Regions from separate parts of the Homo sapiens genome. Here region 2 is linked to region 1. Evidence: promoter capture Hi-C in human tissues and cell types (Jung and others, 2019). All regions are on one chromosome and are shown on one strand. The core of a region is centred on a gene start or on the middle of the fragment in contact, and the rest is flanking DNA. Distances in the headings are between cores, read along the strand shown.

Evidence for each region. The method cuts DNA at HindIII sites, captures the fragments that hold promoters and counts their contacts. A contact is called where the count stands out against the background at its distance.
Region 2: a contact is called between a fragment that was not itself captured here and the fragment with the promoter of EVC2 in region 1, in 1 of the 25 tissues and cell types used here (dorsolateral prefrontal cortex).

What each region holds. Positions count from the first base shown.
Region 1 is chr4:5,706,274-5,709,825 of GRCh38, forward strand. It overlaps EVC2 (EvC ciliary complex subunit 2), which reads right to left and starts at 2,286. Exons shown (of 22, transcript NM_147127.5): 1 at 2,013-2,286. The coding sequence starts at 2,240. RefSeq lists silencers at 1,906-2,285, 2,326-2,375 and an enhancer at 2,226-2,845. The HindIII fragment of the contact is 11,868 bases long and covers 1-3,552 here.
Region 2 is chr4:4,988,046-4,991,961 of GRCh38, forward strand. LOC101928306 (a long non-coding RNA gene) reads left to right here. Exons shown (of 3, transcript NR_125893.1): 3 at 437-626. Among named protein-coding and RNA genes, the nearest start is that of CYTL1, 29 kb to the right of the region's middle. The HindIII fragment of the contact is 6,109 bases long and covers 1-3,916 here.

The DNA.
Region 1 (3,552 bases), core at 1,036-3,535:
TTAGCAAAGGTGCAATAAATATAGATAGATACATAGATAGATAGATACATAGATAGATAGATAGATACATAGATAGATAGACACATAGATAGATACATAGATAGATACATAGATAGATACATAGATAGATAGATAGATACATAGATAGATAGATACATAGATAGATAGATAGATACATACATACATACATACATACATACATAGATAATATTGAATGAATGGATGGATAGATGGTATCAAGTAATTACATGAAGGCATCATATAATTACAATAGGAAGAACTAACCTGTGCCTTCGGGAACTGTGCTCTGGGAACAGCCCTTACACCATTGCTCAGAAGAGGAAGCAGAGACCCTGAGGGCTGTGACTTGTCCCAGGCCCCACAAGAGGGAGTGGCCAAGGCAGGGACACACATGGCCAGAGCTCTTTCCTGTACAGTGTGCAGAAGGGCTATGCAAGACAGGCCCAGAGAGACGGAAGAAGGCTGGTCCCATCAACAGCTGGGATGGGCGTGGGCAGGGCCAGGGCCCAGGGGACGTGCTCAAGATGCCAAGGGCACCTGAATACAGGTGCTCATTCCCAGATTCCTGCAAAGGCAGGGGTTGCCCTTGAGGGTGAGGTACTCTACACCCACCATGGTCCTAGATGGCTTCAGGCCCTTCCCAGTAGGCACCGTCCCTCCCTTCTGGCAGGGACCACCCTCAACACCACTGTGGCTGACAGAGGCCAATGTGCACCAGGATTTCTGACACTGGCTTCCCAGAAGGAAGAGCTTGTGCAAAGCAGGTGAGGCCAGGCACGCAGGCTCTGAACTCGGGGGCCAGAGAGAGAGTACAGGACAGGCCTGGGGACGCGGCTCCCTGAGCCTTGGTTTTGTCACCTGCAAAACGGGCCAGATACTCCCATCTCACAGGGCAGATGCAAGTGAAAGGACCCAGGGAACATGTTCTGTCATTGGACTTTTGAAAGCTCAGGACACTGACATGGCGTTTTTCCAGTGAAAACCTAAAGACAGAAAGGGAGCAGGGTCTCTTTTAAGAGACTAAACCTCTGCCAGTGTCGCAAGTGTCCTGGGGTAGAGAACACAGCAGGACACGACCCACCACCCTAGGAGAGAGGTGGGAGGACCTCAGGGCAGCATCAATGGGCCAGACCATTGGCCAGGGCAGTCCTGGGAATAGGAGCCTGGGTGTGCTGTCAGGGGCAATAAGGTGGAGAGAAGAGTGCCAGCATGGGACAGGAGTGGCAGAATGTCTACCAGGACAGACCACCCCAGAGGTCTGGGGGAAAATGGATGGGAGACGTGGGAAAACCATCACCAAGGGCTGGAAGTGAAGTGGTGGGACCTGAAGCCAGGGAGTGGCAGTGGGGAGTGAGGAGGGGCAGACATCCGAGCTGATTTGGAGGAAAAGGCACTAGGACTGGTGACCAGCTTTGTCGGGGGAGGTCAAGTCTAGGGCTACAGCCAGGGATCCATGCCTTTCGAGTTTAGGACCACAGAGGGAGGGCCAGGGTGAAGTAGGAAGTGGCTAAATCCATCAGCCAGGAGAGTTCAGTCACCTAAGAGTCCAGCCAAGAGCCCCCACTTTTAAAAACCGCTGCAATTTCCCAGTGCTGGCCTCTGCAAGGGGCTCTGCATATGTGAGCTCATCTAACCCACTTCCACCCTCTGGGGTGGACGCCGCGACGGCCCCGTTTCAACGATCAGGAAACTGGGGCACAGGAGTGAACTGCCCTAGGTCGAAGCTCGTAAAATGGAGAGCAGGATTCGAACCAGGGTCGCTGGTGAAGTCCAAGCCGGCAGCTGCCACACCCCGAGGAAGGTCTCCAGTTTCCCTCGAAGCTTTCTGGCCGTGAGCGGGATACACCTAAGGGCCGCGAAGCACCCTATTCAGATCCTGCCCTCCCTTCCTCATTCTTTGCGAAATACTAAGGGTCCTCCCTGCCACCGCCGGTGTAGACAAAGTCAAACCACTACAGTCAGACCGGAGCCTGGGGTCGGGCCCTCCTTACCTGCGTGCTGCTCTCGGGCCCCGCCCCGCTCCGCCCCGGAGGGATCCTCAGGCCGGGCCCAGACCTAGGAGCCACCTGGGGATCCCGGGGTGGCTGCGCGCCGAGGGGGCGCCAGCGGGGACGTGAGCTGGCGCCGAGACAGCCTCGGCCCCCCAGCGCCAGGGCCACTGCCAGGAGACCCCCGGCCAGCACCCACGTGGGGCGCCCCCGGGAGCCCGAGGGGTCCATCGCCTGTCGGGACCCGCTACCTCAAAGCGGCGGGTGCCGCCGAGTCGCTGGAGCTTCCGGACCCCAGGCCCGCCCCGCCGCCGAGCATGCTCAGTGCGAGCCGCCGCCGAAAGTTTTCTGGAACAAACACCCGCATCTGGGGCTTGGCGGGCCAGGAGGTGCCGGACGGGCGTGGGAGGGGGAGAGCGAGTTGGCGCGGCCCAGGCGCCCGGCGGCCAGGCCTGGGTTTGCTTGCGCCCAAACCGAATCAGAGCGGGTCACTCCCCTGCTCCCCGAGGTTACCAGGACCCCAAGGGCCCCTCCGCTACCGCCTACCTGGGTCTGTAAGCCTCAGCTCAGACGCACTTCCCCTGGGAACGGTTTCCTGACACACGGATGTGAATCCAGAGTTTCCCCATCCCCGCTTAGAAAACGGAGAAGCATTTGGAGCGCGGGGCCGGGAGTCCTGGAGCACCCAGAAGGTTCAGGAAAGCTCGGGGAGGAGGGGGTGGCCGCAGAGAAGGAAAAGGACCCTCACTTCCGGTTGCGTTCAGTGCAGACCAGCTGAGCACCCACTGCCCGAGCCTGCTGTGGGTCAGCCCTGGGCCGGCCCGGGTGCCCCTCGCATTCCCAGTGGGAAACAGGCCAGCCGCTGGGCCACCTCTCTGGGGACCTAGAAAGAGGGGAGCTGGTGTCTGAAGTCGCAGCCCTAAGCAAGCTCTCCCTGAACTCTCCGAGGGGACAGGGATTTGCTTTGCCAAGGGACGCAGGAGGAGGAGGAGGAGAAAGACACAAAAAGGGGGACTGGTGGAGCCTTTTGTGTGCTTCCTCATCCCTGCCTAGGTCCTGGGTGACAGCTGACACCTGTTGACGGGGGAGGGCTCCACTCCCGCCAGCCTTCCTGCGGGGCAGGCTGTTAGGCTGTCTATAAAGTCTCAGGCCAGCGAGCCTGGCCCCTGGCAGCCTCTCTCCCCATAACCCAGACCATCCAAGGACAGGCCTTTCCTGACCTAACATGGACAAGGCCATGGGGTTCGAGAAGCTGAGAATTTATAAGCCAAGTTCCCCACACCAGGGGGTACGTGGCAGCTGTCAGGCATGTGACAAGACCACAGGCTAAATGCCAAGCATGTTGCTGGACCGTTGGAGTTGTTTGACAGTCAGTCATTTAAAGGTTAATTTAATAGTCAACAACTTTATGATAAAGTAAAAAGCAAATAACCCTACATTTAAAAAATCTCCTTAGTATTTTTTATGGAGTCAGGGTCTCACTATGTTGCCAAGACTGGTCTTAAACTCCTGGGCTCAGACAATCCTCCACTTGAGCCTCCCA
Region 2 (3,916 bases), core at 1,361-3,860, 720 kb before region 1:
TGTTATCTTTTTACTGCAAATGACGATGTGAACCTTAGTTATGAGGGTATCCAAAGCCACTTTCTAAATTGTGATAATTATCACAATTATCAACTTATCCCCTTATCTGCAGGGGATATGTTCCAAGACCTGCAGATGCCTGAAACCTCAGATAGAATCAAACCCTAAATGCGCTATGTCTTTTCCTATACGCTCATAACTATGATAAGGTTTAATTTATAAATTAGGCAGGCACGATAAGAGATTGACAACATTAATAATAAAATAGAACAATCATAACAATCTACTGTAATATAAGAACAATTATAACAATCTACTGTTATTACAACAATCTACTGTAATAACAATTATAACAATCTATTATAATAAAAGTTATGTGAATATGGTCTCTTTCTCTTTCAAAATATCTTATTGTACTGTACTCATCTACTTCCAGAGCTCAGTTGATCGTGGATAACTGACATAAGGAAGGCAAAAGTGGGTGAAGGAGGCCTGCTGAATTGGGAAATTGTTAGACAACATTCTACAACGGCTGAACAGTGCTTGTCATTTCAGTGCTGTACAAGAATATTAATGATGTGGAAAGCTGTCCATTATAATAAAGTTCAAAAAGAACTTGCAAAATACAAGATGCATTATGATCCCATTTGGTATAAATATTGGAAATGTATGCATCAGTGTCTAAGGATTGGGATTCAGGAGGTTTTCCTTTTCTCCCAGCTCATCTGTGGTCTTCTCTATTTCTATAAGAACAGGTATTGTGTAAAACAAAAACATTTGCATTTACTACGGTCCCTCCCTGCTTTCTACCGAGTCTGTGTTACTGGGCACAGAGATGGTCCTGGAAGAACAGAGATCTTAAGAAGGAACGGGCCTGTTCCAGGAGCTGGGAATTTGATTGCCTTTTTGTCCCACGGTGATCCCTCCAGGTCCCCAGGTTGGGTTGAGAGCTCTGTCACAACAACCTTTGGGTTGTGGTCCATGCCCATGTCACGCAGTAGAGGGTTCCTCTGTAAAGTAGAAATAATCGCCTCCACTCTCCCTGTTGGAAATTGAATGGCTTTATGCACGTAAAGCACCCAGCCCGAGGCCTGGTACACACTGAGTGCGCAGTAAAAGCCCAGCCATGGGCACCCTACCTTGTGCTCTTCTCTCAGCTGTCCTTGTGCTTCTCTGCTTCCATTCCTGATTCCTCCTCGCTCCGTCTTTTCTCACCTTCCGTCTCTAGTCCTTACTCCCATAATTCCTTCTTTCTTTTGCTGTCTCAGCAAGACAGGAGCAATCCTTGTTATCAAGACCAAGTTTTTTCCCAATGGTGTTATCTCATCGAAGCCTCCTAACCTTGCCGTCAAATCAGTGGTGTCATGCCCATTTTACAGAAAAGGAAACTGAGGCCCTGCATGATGCACTGTGCATTGGGATTGGTTTTGGATGGCTGTCTCAAGTCTCCAACGATCCTGTAAGCACTAAGGGTAAAGACTGCGTCTCCTTCACCCTCTGTATCCCACACCCCCTACCATGCACCCATCTTGTGAAGCCAAAAGAGGTGGGGCCTGGGTGAGCAGGAAGGATCTAGTATGACAGTGGCGGTGAGAGGATTATGCCACGGTGTAGAAAGAGTAGTTAGATTTAGAACTCTTAGCTCCTGTTCGGGCGGCCTCAAGCCAGTAGCTAAGTTCTCTAAGCCCAGTTTCCTCATCTGTAAACCAGAGATAATAACAGTCCCCACACTCCATGGGCCTCTGTGATGATTAAACGAGAAACATACATAAAACTCCTAACAGGAGAACCGGGTGGGCCATGTATGTGCAGGCAGGTCAGCCGGGTGGCGCAGTGCTCTGGACTGGAGGCAGGGTGTCGTCTTCAGCTTCCTCACCTGGGGCAATGACTCTGCCCCAGCCTTACCAGCCTGGTGTTCTGGGTGCTAATGGAGTGGGGGTGGCACTCAACTGAGGGTTGGGGGCTTCACAGCAAATTCATTTCCACCCACCCAGACCATCCCCTGCCCTCTTTCTTAACAGGACTCATGAAAACCGGGTCACATTTTCCCTTTGCTCTTGATGAACCAATAACCTTGAACATCTGAAAATAAAACGTCTATGGCCCCCACAGCCTACTGAGGTTGTGTGGCTCTGCAGACATTATAAAACATCAAATTAGATGGAAAATTGCCCGGGGTCCCTGTAAATGAAAATTACTCTTTTTTATAGGGGGAAAAAATGACCCTTATAATCGCAACAAACAATTCTGGGCTCTTCCTTTTATTAGCCGGCTCACATGGCAAGCAGTATTTTCTCATTCCACCGCTTTGGCCCCAACCCATGTTTTTACCACATTTTACTTTGCACATTTTCACAGCATTGTAACATGAAAATGAGGTTCTGCCCTTGTCTTGAGTTCCTGTTGGAAGGGGATGTTTTGCCTCCGCAAAGTTTTAGCCTCCTGGTGAGTGCTGGCTGGATCCAGGCTTGGTGTAGGGTGGTGAAAGAGCACTGGATAGGGGGTTAGATGACTAAGCCTGCTGTGTGACTTCCAGCTGGTTGCTTAACCTCTCTGGGCTGCACTTTCTTCCTCCATGATAGGAGAGGGCTGGATTGGGTTAGGGATGGCACAGTCAATGCCTCTAGGTGCCAGCAAGGTGATGTCCATGTGTGATGGCCCTGTGTAAAACACCCTCGACCTCCATGGGGTCAAGCCAGGGCTTGTGGCCTCCCATTCTTGTCCACATCCCGACATAAAAACTTAGGCATTTTTTTTCTTTTTTCCTGTAGAACCTCACAAGAATATTTTGGAAACAAGACAAAGAGGGAGGATGCTGTTGGCTGTAGCTCAGAGCTTCTCAACACAGGGCTGATTTGGGCCCTGATTTGGCCATGTCTGGGGCGTTTTTGGCTGTCATGACTGGGCCATCATCTGGTGATGCTGCTGACATCCTGTGGGTGGAGGCCGGGTCTGTGGCTAAACACCCCACAGTGCAAAGCCCCACCACCGACAAAGGACTAGGTGGCCCCAGACGCCCCCAGTGCCCAAGGCTGAGAGCCCTGCAGCAGGGCGGGGTTGGGTTGGATTTGGGAGTGGAGACTGGCTGGCCTGGGTGGGTCCCTGCCACTGGCTTGACACCCTGTGATGCAAAGCAGTGCCCGTGGAGCCTTGGATCGCTGGCTGTCAGCCACATGAGTCAGCAGGGCCCGAGCACAGCCTCCATGCTCTCTGGCTGTGATGGGCCTACAGACTGACCTTTGTCAAGGGCTGGAGAACCTCGGACGGCTGCCACCAAGCCCCAGGCAGAGCCTAAAGATTTGTCAGGGTTGGGGGTGGGGGACCAAAGATGCTGGTTAAGTGTTGAGGAGTGAGGAAGCCACAGTGACTAAGCCGCGCCTGGGCGCCGCGGGCTGATCCTAATGAAGCCTAGCCAGTCTCTCCTCCACAGTTTTGACACAGTTAGAAAAACTTTCTCTTGTTTAACTGGAAACAGCCACCCACACTCACCCTTTCACATACCAGTTGCCTTCTTGCAGATCATAGGAAATAAACTGACCTTTTAAAAAATCACAAGTGAAATATAAGGAAACAGAGTGAGCGGAGGCGTTTAGGGGTCTTGAATTCGGCCCACTGGGCAGGAGTGAGCAGGAGTGAGATATGTGAGGCTGTGTGAGTCCATCCTGCCTCCACTCTCTGTGCTCCCGTCTGTGGAGTGGGGCAGTGGACACGGGCTCCTCAAGCCTGCTGGCTCTCTCGGTTTAGGTGTCTCCTGACGGGAGTGGGAATCCGGGCAGGGGCGGGTGGCTGCTTCTCAGGGCCTTCTCACGGCTCCCTTCTCGGGACATTTCATTCACAGATTTGTGAATCTGCAGTTTTGGGAGGATGACTAAAGGTCACTTTGTCCAACCTCAAATGCAGATATGCCCTCTACTTT